Regions from separate parts of the Homo sapiens genome. Here region 1 is linked to region 2. Evidence: promoter capture Hi-C in 16 types of primary human blood cells and fetal thymus (Javierre and others, 2016). All regions are on one chromosome and are shown on one strand. The core of a region is centred on a gene start or on the middle of the fragment in contact, and the rest is flanking DNA. Distances in the headings are between cores, read along the strand shown. Region 1 has its middle 22 kb from the start of FRMD5. Region 2 holds the start of EIF3J (eukaryotic translation initiation factor 3 subunit J).

What was found. The method cuts DNA at HindIII sites, captures the fragments that hold promoters and counts their contacts. A CHiCAGO score of 5 or more calls a contact.
Region 1: a contact is called between a fragment that was not itself captured here and the fragment with the promoter of EIF3J in region 2, in 1 of 17 cell types (erythroblasts). The highest score is 5.0, in erythroblasts.

The regions. Positions count from the first base shown.
Region 1 is chr15:44,214,025-44,220,376 of GRCh38, reverse strand. No RefSeq gene overlaps it. Among named protein-coding and RNA genes, the nearest start is that of FRMD5, 22 kb to the right of the region's middle. The HindIII fragment of the contact is 1,979 bases long and covers 1,408-3,386 here.
Region 2 is chr15:44,532,679-44,538,882 of GRCh38, reverse strand. EIF3J (eukaryotic translation initiation factor 3 subunit J) reads right to left here and starts at 1,736. Exons shown (of 8, transcript NM_003758.4): 1 at 1,646-1,736; 2 at 1,456-1,559. The coding sequence starts at 1,688. It overlaps EIF3J-DT (EIF3J divergent transcript), which reads left to right and starts at 1,960. Exons shown (of 2, transcript NR_034170.1): 1 at 1,960-2,840; 2 at 3,409-4,378. RefSeq lists silencers at 1,234-1,283, 1,304-1,613, 1,804-1,973 and enhancers at 2,144-2,593, 2,281-3,068. The HindIII fragment of the contact is 7,095 bases long and covers 1,170-6,204 here.

The sequences.
Region 1 (6,352 bases), core at 1,148-3,647, 320 kb after region 2:
TGAAATTTAATTTAATTAATTTTCTAACGGGCTAAATTTATTTTAAAATAAGAGTCATTCATGCAAATGGCAAAATTCAAACAATTCAAAAAAGTACAAAGTAGAAAAGCACAGGTTAAGGCCAGGCGCGGTGGCTCATGCCTGTAATCCCAGCACTTTGGGAGGCTGACGCGGGTGGATCACCTGAGGTCACGAGTTCGAGACCAGCCTGGCCAACATGGTGAAACCCCGTCTCTACCCAAAATACAAAAATTAGCTGGGCGTGGTGGCAGTTGCCTGTAATCCCAGCTACTCGGGAGGCTGAGGCAGGAGAATTGCTTGAACCTGGGAGGTAGAGGTTGCAGTGAGTCGAGATAGTGCCATTGCACTCCAGCCTGGTGGACAAGAGTGAGACTGCCTCTCCAAAAAAAAGAAAAAAAAAAAAAAAAAAGCAGAGGTTACTTTTCTTTGTTGCCATTTCTGCCACAAAGAATATAACTATTGTCTTCCACAAGGCGGCAGTATTGCTTACTCTTCAACAATCTCCCCATGGCCAGACAGTGACTGCCAGAGTCGACTATGAATATTCAAGTCATTCTCCCAGTGACTGAATCAGTCCCTGGTACTGAAATGCCAGGTCAAAGCCAGATTCCCGTCATGAGAAAAACCAAAAGTGAACAAAGAACTGCACCAGATAGAGCTGTAACTGTGTGGATAAACAGTAGGAAATAGGTTAGGGACGGAGAGAACCAAATGAAGCACAGGGCAGTGGGTTGCCGCCCAGAAAACTTCTATCAATTTCCTATCTCCATGGAGGAACTGCAACAGCTAGGGTCAGTTTTGAGAAAGCGTGCATCCAATTGTGTCATGCACAGAATTTTCTCTTTACAATGAACTGGACCCAGTCAATTCAAGGGTTTCCACAGTATCCCTCATGGCTCCAGAAGTCTCTAGGCTACTAGAAAAGACCTGGATCTTTCAATAGTGCCCTTCCCCAAAAAGAGTTGGGGAGATCATGTTTGAGTTTCCCAACCTTGTAGATTTCCAGCAGGAACAGGTGATAAAAAGCACAGATGGTCCTGTTTTGGTCATTAAATTCTAGCGACATATGGTGAGGAGAATGCTTTTTAGACTTTCTATGTGAGATCACATATCTACTGGAATAAAACGTTTGTTACTGGTGACATCTTTAGGATCCTGAGAGAATGACCCTTCTCTGTGACATTCAATAATATGCTTCTCCATGACCTAGGAGAGGACAGAACTGAAGAAAGTAGTAAGTGATGGAATTGTAGAAAGGAAAACTCTTCGTCTCCTCAAATCCTTGAGATCATTGCAGCAGGGATAGGGGCAGGGGCAGAAGCAGAGGCAAGGAATGGACTATGACAGAAAAGGTTTGTGTGAGGGACAGTTACTAAGAGTGAAGCTTTGTTCCCAAGGTAAACCCAGACAAACCACAGAGAAAGAAGAATGTGGGAAACACATTATGGAATTTGCAAGATACGTCTCTAATTATTATGGATCTATTGTGATGTGATCTACTGTTTGGGGTCCTTCAAAGTAATGGGTATAGAGCCTAGAACACAGGACCAAGAACCAGCATTTTTTTTTTTTTTTCTAATCAAGAGTCTTTCTAAAAGCTGCTGAGCTCTTAGACCAACTTTGTAGTTTAGACAGTCTTTTGGTAACTAATGGGAATTGTTGTACCTAATTACAACAATGGAGAGAAATACCATACTAAATACTTTGAGTCATAATGTCAATCAGTTTAAGTTAAATCTTTACTTTCCACAAGCATTATTTCTTTTTTTTTGAGATGGAGTCTCGCTCTGTCCCCCAGGCTGGAGTGCAGTGGCGGGATCTCAGCTCACTGCAAGCTCTGCCTTCCTGGTTCACACCATTCTCCTGCCTCAGCCTCCCGAGTAGCTGGGACAACAGGCGCCTGCCACCATGCCCGGCTACTTTTTTGTATTTTTAATAGAGACGGGGTTTCACCGTGTTAGCCAGGATGGTCTCGATCTCCTGACCTCGTGATCCGCCCGCCTTGGCCTCCCAAAGTGTTGGGATTACAGGCGTGAGCCACTGCGACCAGCCAGCATTACTTCTTTTAGTGACCCCTGGCTACTTCTAAATGATGTGCCTGATTTCAACTATGAATTTCCACTTTTTTTTTCCGTGCTGTATCCAAACTTCATTCTGGATTACAGTGCTTGGCAATATGTCCAATGATCATGGTTTGTAACGGGAAAAATCCTGGCTATTGCCTTCATAAGGCTTAGACATCTTATATAGTCCTGGCAGAACTTTTATTGATAAACAAAAACAACAACAAAAACCCAGGATGTTGACCTGCATTTTCTAGGTTTGAAGTTAAAACAAATTTTGCACAGGCTATATAATTTAGTCAATGGGCACTCCCAAACCTCAGACTGGAAATATGAAACCCGGTTAAAAGCCAATAAAGAAAACCTGATGTGATCCCAGAGCTAATTAGGAGAATCTACTAAAAACATTCTTGTTAATAATGCAAGTGCTGGGCTCGTTGTCACAGTGTTAGAAGAACCGTAACTGTGTTCTCTCTCTCTCTCTCTTCTTTTTTTTTGAGACGGAGTCTGGCTCTGTTGCCCAGGCTGGAGTGCAGTGGTGCGATCTCGGCTCACTGAAAGCTCCGCCTCCCGGGTTCACGCCATTCTCCCGCCTCAGCCTCCTGAGTAGCTGGGACTATAGGCACCAACCACCACACCCGGCTAATTTTGTTTTTGTATTTTTAGTGGAGACGGGGTTTCACCGTGTTATCCAGGATGGTCTCGGTCTCCTGACCTCATGATCCGCCTGCCTCGGCCACCCAAAGTGCTGGGATTACAGACATGAGCCACCACACCCAGCCACTGTGTCCTCTTAATTCCACCTCAATTTTAAGTGAAAGATGGGCATACAAATCAGAAGGAAATAGCATTGCCAGTGCCATGTTATGCCCTACCTTGGTCTGGAGCCAGGTGCACGATAACCAGAAGATCAGCTCTTACTGGCCAATGGGAGTGTTTATGTCTCTTAATCACAGTGGACATGTCTGAGAGACTGCCGGCTCTAGTAGACTGCTCACTGATACCTGGTTCCTCTTCATGTGGAAAGATCACAATAACCTGTCCTGTTGAGCTCAGATGTCACCATGTGAGTTGCTTTGGCCATTGAAATGTGAGTGGAAGCTCTGGGGGTTCCTCTGGCAGAAGTTTTAAGAGCCAGAGCATGCTTTTTCATGGTCTGCTTTTCCTCTGCCATGGTTACCAATAACATTCCAGACAGAAGTTGCTCTGGCAGTCTGGGTGCCAAAGTGAAAATAATGATGGAGAGAGCAGAGCAACTTTGCTGACCTCCAATGCACATGTGGTGTGAATGAGATGTAAGCTTTTGCTTTTTTAAGGTTGTTTGTCACTGTAGCACAACCCTACATCATACATTCTCAATGGGAGAGGTTTCACCCCATGGAAGGCAAAAATTGGCCTTTTTTTTTTTTTGAGACGGAGTTTTGTTCTTGTTGCCCAGGCTGGAGTGCAATGGCGTGGTCTTGGCTCACTGCAACCTCCACCTCCTCGGTTCAAGCAATTCTCCTGCCTCAGCCTCCCAAGAAGCTGGGATTACAAGTGCCCGCCACCATGTCAGCTGATTTTTTTTTTTTTTTTTTTTGTATTTTTAGTAGAGATGGGGTTTCACCATGTTGGCCAGGCTGGTCTCGAACTCCTGACCTCAAATGATCCACCCACCTTGGCCTCCCAAAGTGCTGGGATTACAGGCGTGAGCCACCGTGCCCGGGCTTTTTTTTTTTTTTTAAATGTTATAAAACTCAGATGTGCTGGGTGTGGTGGCTCATGCAACATAGTGAGCCCTAATCCCTTAACAAACAAATAAGACAATTAGCCACGTGTAGTGGCCTGCACCTGCAATCCCAGCTACTTGAGAGACTGAGACAGGAGGATTTTTGAGCCCCCCAAATAAAAAAAACAAAAACAAAACACACAGATGTTATTGTATATATAGTACACAAATAGATATACTATATATTAAATATTTATGGGGGGATGATTAGGAAAAAAGTCTAAAAAGGCTCCTTGAGAGGTGATAATGAAATAAAGGTTGAGTAACATTGGTCTATAATGGTCAGGTTATCTTCATCAAATCTAATTTAGGGGGTTCTCAGCTCTAGTGGAACATTTAAGTCTTTTGGAGAGCTTTTTAAAAACACTGATATCCAAGTCTAGTTCCCAGAAATTCTAATTTAATTGGCAGAATTAACATATATATATATATATATATATATATATATATATATATATATTTTTTTTTTTTTTTTTTTTTTTTTTTTAACAGTTCCCAGGTAATTCTAATTTGCAGACAGGGTTAAGAACCACTGGACCAGACATTCTCAAAGACAAAGCCGCATTGCTTCCCCCAGGGAGAAGTCACACAAATAGCAGAGAAATAGCACAGAGCACAGGAAGTGGCTGGCATGGAGTACAACTCACTCCTGTTTTAGACGGGCTATTCTGGCCTCATACCAGGTAACAAAAAGCTGCATTCATCAAGAAGAGACAGCAATGTCCGCTTTCTGTATTTTATCATTCCCATTTCATGACACACTATTTGAATGCAGAAGGTCCTTTATGAGTCATTTGGAAAACACAAGAAGGCCAAAAAATGGCTGTGGTTATTCCTGGACTAGTACCCATAATCAGCATTTTCTGCACAGATGCATTTGGAAATCATCTCTAGCTCAGCTCCTAAAATTCTAAGTTCTTACTGAGTGAGTTAAAAAAGCCACTCAGCATGAGATCTTTATCTCCTATTCCTAGGAAACTCTAGATGCCAGAAGGGAACTTTCATATAGTGTGTAAAAGTTAAAAATTAAAGAAAATTAAAAACAATTAGGAGGGCACTTTCTCTGTCTTTGCATAGAAAGAGGCTTGGGCTAAATTGCAGTGACATGGGATTATCGTGACTGAATTTGGTCATTAGATGGATCACCACTTATTCTTCCCTGAAATGTGACTTGGAATTGACAATGGTATGGCCATATATATATATATATATATATGTATTTTTTTTTTTTAGATGGAGTTTTGCTCTTGTCACCTAGGCTGGAGTGCAATGGCACAATCTCGGCTCACTGCAACCTCTTCTGGTTATGGCTATATTTTAATGAAGTGGCTCATTTTCAGGTTGGAAGTTGAAATTATAATGTGTTAATTAATAAGGGTATCACCTTGATTTTTTCCTTTACACATTTGCACACTCAGATGGTATTTACATTGGTCTCATTTATTTGGAGGTTAAAATTAAAAGATGTGGATTGGCTTTCCTGATGTTAATTTTGGTCACTGAGCACCTAGCTCAAGGGAAGGTGGAGATATTTGCAGGCATTACTTGTGAAATTTCTTGAAGCATAAACATAAAATTTCCAGGAAATTCTCCACAAGGAGAGTCAGCATCAGTTGTACAAATTGACAAATGCTCACAACTATCTTGTCAACACTTGGTTGGTGATTTGGGCAGATACAGAAATAAAAAAAATCAAGTGTTGCAGTTATTAGTAGAGGCCAGAATGGATTTGAAATGTGAAGATGGACAAAACGTGGATCCTAAAGGGCTTAAACGCTAAGTATCTGCAATTCATTGTCTCTAATTTTTAAAATTTCTTTTCAATTTTTTAAATTGACAAAAATGTTATGTATAAGCCGAATGTAGAGATAAATGCCTTTAGTCGCAGCTACTTGGGAGGCTGAGGTGGGAGGATCCTTTGAGCCCAAAAGTTCAAGGTCAGCCTGGGCAACAGAGAGACCCCCATCTCAGAAACAAAACAAAATTATATATAAAATTGTACATAATAAATATATATAATTATATATAAAAATATATATATTTATTATATACAACATGGTGTTTTGAAATATTATGGAATGGCCCAATTGATCTAATTAACATATGCATTACCTCCTTATCTCTCGTTTCAAAGAATGGCAATTGTGAATCCTTTTTAGAACGCTGGCTAACCGCAATTCCTCATGTGGAGAAAGCAACACAGTGACTGTATGATGTTGCTCGTCTACCCACAGCTGATTGAATAAGAGGTAGACACCTGACTTAAGTTAATTACATTCTTTCTCCTGGGAATTTGGAATTGGGATGCAGAGTCTTTGGTTTGTTTATACTGGGCACTGGAACTGTTAGATAATGAAGAGCTGGGGCTGACTGCCATTTTCTACCAAGGGGATGTTGAAGCAGAGAAAGCCAATCTTCGAAGAAAGGAGAGAAGACATTATGGAGCCTAGAGGAGATGAAAGTAATATCTTCAGTTTGTGACTTTCAAGTTCCACGTCAA
Region 2 (6,204 bases), core at 487-2,986:
ATTTATTCCCAAATTTCATAACAGATGTCTTAACTGCCACTTCCTATATGCATGGAAAAAAATGAAAGGACCAATATGAACCCAAGGCTCAAAACTGAAAATCTGCTACAATGTAGAGGGGTAACTAATATCTTGTAATGCGGCTGGTAACAAAATCTAGTCCCATGTTTCTACAACATGTAAATAAAGCATCTGAGTGTCTTCAAACAATAACCAGTCGATTTATTAACTTCAATGTGTGCAAAGCTCACAACATTCTTGAACCTCAGGCTGTCAGTAAATCGGACATCCACACATCCAACCTCATCGGACTGGGGAGAGAACAGAAAAACTCAAAACAACATTCCTATTAAGTTCATAGTGATTATCTAGCTTAAACTTTTCAGCCCAGGCAGGATTTATAGGGTTCTCCGTTTGTGTTTATAAATTAGGAGAAATTCACTAAATTAGGCAAAACCACAAAAAAAAATCATTTTCCATTTCACACAAAACTTTATCTGCACAAATATAACAAGATTTTGAGAACTTTGTTAATAAGAGTCTTAACATTTTGGATTTGAGACTTCTGTAACTACTGTAAAAAAAAAAAAAAACCATGTAGAAGTAAATGTCACTTACAGCTGTATAATGAACCCTTCGGAGTTTTCAAAATCAAACGACTGAGGTAAAAATGATTATCTACAAGGCACAGACAAAACAACAACAACAACAAAAAACCACGGGCCCGTCATCTACAACCACCACCAAATCTTCAATATTTCCTTAGGTGTCGTATGTGTGTAGTTGAGTAACTGTCGTCTCTCCATTTCTCAGGTCACGGTGTGAACTACCTGGGTTTCTGTCCACTAACTGCGGGCTATCTCAGTGGTCAGTTCATTCTTTTTACCACAGGGTGGGGGAAGGGAGAGCCAAAAGTTATTTCCCTTTACTGTTTCTAGCTGTCTCGTGTGGGAAAAAAAGGTTGAAATTCAACTACAATATTTCACTCATCTAATCCCTCGAACAAACTGTATAAGTAGACCTCAGGGTCATAAATGAGTTACTGGCCCTGGGCTGACTTGAGCTCGAAAAGACAGGCGAGTCTCAAGGCTTTCCATATGGATAAGCTACAAGGCTCAATTCCCAACTTCCCGGTCTCATTCCTGCGAGAGGCTCCGGACCGCGAAGCTTGCACGTGGGCCGACCCGGCCGATGCTGTCACCTTTCGTCGCCAGCCGGCGGGTGGGATCCACGCCGGAGAGCAGACTCTCAACCGGCGAGGGAGTCCGGGAGGCCACGCTGCCAGTCTTCGGCCCACACATGGCCGGCAAGCGGAGGGGAAGAGAGCACCGCCAGGCCCTATGCTCGCGCCTGGACCCACGGCCCGCAGGCCCCGGCAGCGACCCGGGGCCCAGAGTCGGCCGGCAACAGCGCCAGCCCGCTTCCGCGCTGCCCGGCGCCCTAGCCCGCACCCACCTTGACGTCCTCGTCCTCGTCCTCGCCTTCCCAGCGGTCCCCGCCGGCAGTGCCGCCGCCCCCCACCTTCCGCACTGGGTCTTCCACGGAGAAAGCGTCGGCGTCTACGGAAGAAAGCGAGCCGTGTTAGTGCCTGCCACTGCGTGGGGCCGGCGCCGGCCCGGGCCCTGCCCCAGCAACTTCTCCTCACCCCAGGAGTCCGAGTCCCCCGCCGCCGCCGCCGCCGCCGCCATCTCGAGCCGGGTGTGAGCGTGTGTGAGAGGGAGAGCTAGCGAGGAGTTAGCACGGCGGAGGTGAGTCACTGGGTTTGCTCTCGTTGACCGGCGCGGAGCAGGATGGGACCGTGGCTGACTGTGCGCCGAGCCGAGGCCACGCCCCCTCAGGCGGCGGCGGCGACGCGCGCGGGTAAGAAGTGGGCGGGGAACGCGGTCGGTGGCGCTGCGGGGCTGAGGGAGAGGCGGAGGGGGGGGCGGAGGGGGGCGGAGGGAGGGGCGGAAAGAGCAGAGGGAGGGGCACAGGGGGCTGAGGAGTGCTGGGTCGGGCTTCCAGCTCCCTACAACGCAGACCAGTACTGGAGTTCGTGGTGCTGGAAGACCGCCGCCCGACTCTGGGCCCCGGGTAGGAAACGTAAGTGCCAGGAAGTTAGCAGAGTGGTTCTTTGGCTGGCGCCTGAACCTCGCCAGTCTTCGTCGCCCCTCCCCTGCCAACGCCTACCCCGCTTCGACCGGAGGGTGCGCTGTCCCTCTGGTCACTGTGATCACCGTCCATGGCCGCCTGCGGATACCCACGCCGTGCTCAGAAGAGGGCTCTGAGGCCACGCCCGCCTGTGGGGTCGGTGGCCGGGCTTCCGGGACCCCAGAGGGAGTCGTCGCGCGCTAGGTGGAGGGGACCCCTCTGGAATCCGGCGATCCCCGGGCGCAGATGCAGGAGCGGGTGGGGAGAGCCGCGTTCCTGGCATGTTTGCCTCGAGTTAGTCACGAAGGAATCGAAGAGAGCCTTAGTCTTCGAGGCTTTTCCCTTCCTGTGAGCCCCTTTGAGGCCAGCACATTGATTTTTTTTTCTTTCGCAGAACAATTTCGGACCTCCTGGGGTCTATGCTAGGTATGAGGTGTATCTTTGCCCTCCATCAAGTAGCAAAGATGGACATGTAAACAAATTTCGACACTGTGATGACTGCCACAAAAAGCAGCATTATGAGGTTGAATGTAAAAGGATAACCTTAGCGGCGGCGGGGGCCGGAGGATGAAGGAAGGCTTCCTGAGGTAGGCGCTGGTTGAAACTGAAGTTGGAGAGAGCAAGTGGCATTTGCTGAAGTGCATTTCCGGTAGAAAACTCCAGTGGTCCCTCACCTGACTGAGTGGCGCAGTCAGAGATAAATGGAACAGGTACACTGACCAGAAAGGGCAAGATGGGCTAAACTTCGCCGTTGGGCCACTGGGCTCCCCCGCAGGATTTTAAAGAGCTAGCCAGTAGATGGATTTTGTTTTTGTTATTTTCGCAATTTATTTTCAAATATGTAATACGCGAACTTGGTACAACATTCATGTGATAAAAAGGTAGATACGTGGGCAGGACGCGGTGGCTCACGCCTGTAATCCCAGCATTTTGGGAGGCCGAGATGGGCGGATCATTTGCTGTCAGGAGTTCGAGACCAGCCTGGCCAACATGGTAAAACCCCACCTCTACTAAAAATACAAAAATCACCTGGGCGTGGTGGCGGGCGCCTGTAATCCCCACTACTAGGGAGGCTGAGGCAGGAGAATCGCTTGAACCCGGGAGGCGGAGGTTGCAACAGTGAGCCGAGATCGCGCCACGGCTCTCCAGCCTGGGCGACAGTTAGACCCGTCTCAAAAAAAAAAAAAAAACAAAAAAGGTAGATACAACGATCAGCTGCTCCGCTCCGTTCTTTCTAGTGGTAACCATTGTTCCCCCTTTCTGGTGTTATCTTTTCAGAGTCTACAAATAAACATTTTATAAAGATGATCCTTCAATACATATTCTACAGCCCAGTTAAAATGTGAGAGGCCATGATCTACAGACAGCCATTTATAAAGGTGGATCAGGGCCGGACACGGTGGCTCAACGTCTGTAATCCCGGCACTGTGGGAGGCCAAAGCGGGAGGATCGCTTGAGCCCAGGAGTTCGAGACCAACCTGGCCAACATGGTGAGACCCCATCTTTACAAAAAAATATATATATCCAGGCATAGTGGTGTGCACCTGTGGTCCTGTGGTCCCAGCTACTCAGGAAGCTGAGGCAGTTGAGGCTGCAGTGAGCCACGTTCTGGCCACTACACTCCAGCCTGGGCATCAAAGTGACAAGACCAAAAAAAAAAAAAAATGTGGATTGGAAGGAGGCAAGAAAGAAGTCAGGAAAAGGGTGGAATGTAAGTCCCTAAGGACACAATCTTACTCACAATTGTATCTCCAACATTTGGCATAATGCCTAATACGTAAGTATTTTATGAATTAATTAAACGAGAACACAAGCCTAAATTAAGGCAATGGCAATGGAGAAGAAGAAACCAACTTGAGAAATATTTAAAGGTCATTGTCAATGGAACTTAGTGACTTTAATGGTTAATTTTATCTATCAACTTGGCTAGGCGATGCTACCCATGTTACTCAGTTTTTGGTCAAACACTAGTCTAGTTGTTGCTATGAATTGTATTTGTTAGATGTGATTAACATTTAAATCAGCAGACTTTGATTAAAGTACATTACCCTCTATAATGAGGGTGGGCCGCATCCGGTCAGTTCAAATTAAAACGAGACCCTTAAGAAGAAGCAATTCAGCCTCCAGACTGCAGCGTCAAATCTCCCTGGGTCTCCAGGCTGTTTGTCTGCCCTGCAGATTTCAGACTTGCCAGCTCCCAGAATAATGTGAGCCAATTCCTTAAAATAAATCTCTTTCTGCATATACACATCCTATTGATTCTGTTTCTCTGGAGAACCCGTACTAATATAGTGTCTGACTAGATATGAAGGAGGAGGGGAAGGGAGAAATAGATAGACGATGCCTTTGGATATTGAGTGACACTTATCTAGTTGCTTAAGTCAAAAACCTGAAAACTGGTTAGGCACGCCTATTACGGGCTCACGCCTGTAATCCCAGCACTTAGGGAGGCTGAGGCAGGCAGATCATTTGAAGTAATTCAAGACCAGCCTGGCCAACATGATGAAACCCCAAGACCACTAAAAATACAAAAATTAGCCGGGCGTGGTGGCACATGCCTGTAACCCCAGCTCCTCAGGAGGCTAAAGCAGGAAAATTGCTTGAACCCAGGAAACAGAGGTTGCAGTGAGCCGAGATTGTGCTACTCCACTCCAGCCTGGGAGAGACTCCATCTGAAAACAAACAACAAAAAAAAATGCTGGGCACAGTGGCTCACGCCTGTAATCCCAGCACTTTAGGAGGCTGAGGCGGGCGGATCACCTGAGGTCAGGAGTTCAAGACCAGCCTGGCCAATGTGGCAAACCCCATCTCTACTAAAAATAAAAAAAAAATTAGCTGGGCATGTTGGCGGGCACCGTAATACCAGCTACTCGGGAAGATGAGGCAGGAGAATCACTTGAACCGGGAGGCAGAAGTTGCAGTGAGCTAAGATCGCGCCATTGCACTTTAGCCTGGGCGACGAGCGAAACTCCCTCTCAAAAAAAAAGAAGAAGGCTGGGCGCGGTGGCTCATGCCTGTAATCCCAGCACTTTGGGAGGCCGAGGTGGGTGGATCACTTGAGGTCAGTAGTTCGAGACTAGCCTGGACATGGTGAAACCTGTCTCTACTAAAAATACAAAAATTAGCCAGGTATAGTGGCTCATGCCTATAATTCCAGCTACTTGGGAGGTTGAGGCAGGACAATGGTTTGAACCCAGGAGGCAGAGGTTGTAGTGAGCTGAGATTGTGCCACTGCACTCCAGCCTGGATGACACTCTATCAAAAAAAAAAAAAAGAAAAGAAAAAAAAAAAAAAACTGGGGCATGTGGGTTGAAGGTGCTATGGAAAAATTCATGGGCTATGTGTATGCAGCATTGTTTTCAAAGCAGAAATTGAGAATTTATTTATAGTGGTGTGCATACTGCTTTTTCAAATGAGGAAACAGGAAAACAAGGTTCTAGACCTATGTATTAGGGACTTCCTTTAGTCTGTAAAACTTGTGCCAGGCGTGGTGGCTCACACCTGTAATCCCAGCACTTTGGGTGGCTGAGGCAGGTGGATCACCTGAAGTCAGGAGTTCCAAGACCAGGCTGGCCAACCTGGTGATACCCCCGTCTCTACTAAAAATACAAAAAAATAGCCGGATGTGGTGGTGCACTCCTGTAATCCCAGCTATTTGGAAGGCTGAGGCAGGAGAATCGCTTGAACCCAGGAGGCAGAGGTTGCAGTGAGCCAAGATCATGCCACTGCACCCAGCCTGGGCAACAGAGCGAGTCTCTGTCTCAAAACAAACACACAAAAAAACTTGTGATTCACAGGTTAGTCTCTAGGGGAGCTCTATAATCACAAAGACAGTGACAGTATTCCCATTTTACAGATGAGCAGACTAGGTAATCAATGTTTCTTAACAAATTAACATTAAAACTTCTGTCAGGAAGTTCCAGGCCAGGCACAGTGGCTCACATCTAAAATGCCGGCACTTAGGAAGGCTGAGGCAGGAGGATCACTTGAGCTCATTTCAAGACCAGCCTGGGCAACATGGCAAGACTCCATCTCTACAAAAAATAAAAAATTAGCTGGGCATGGTGGCACACA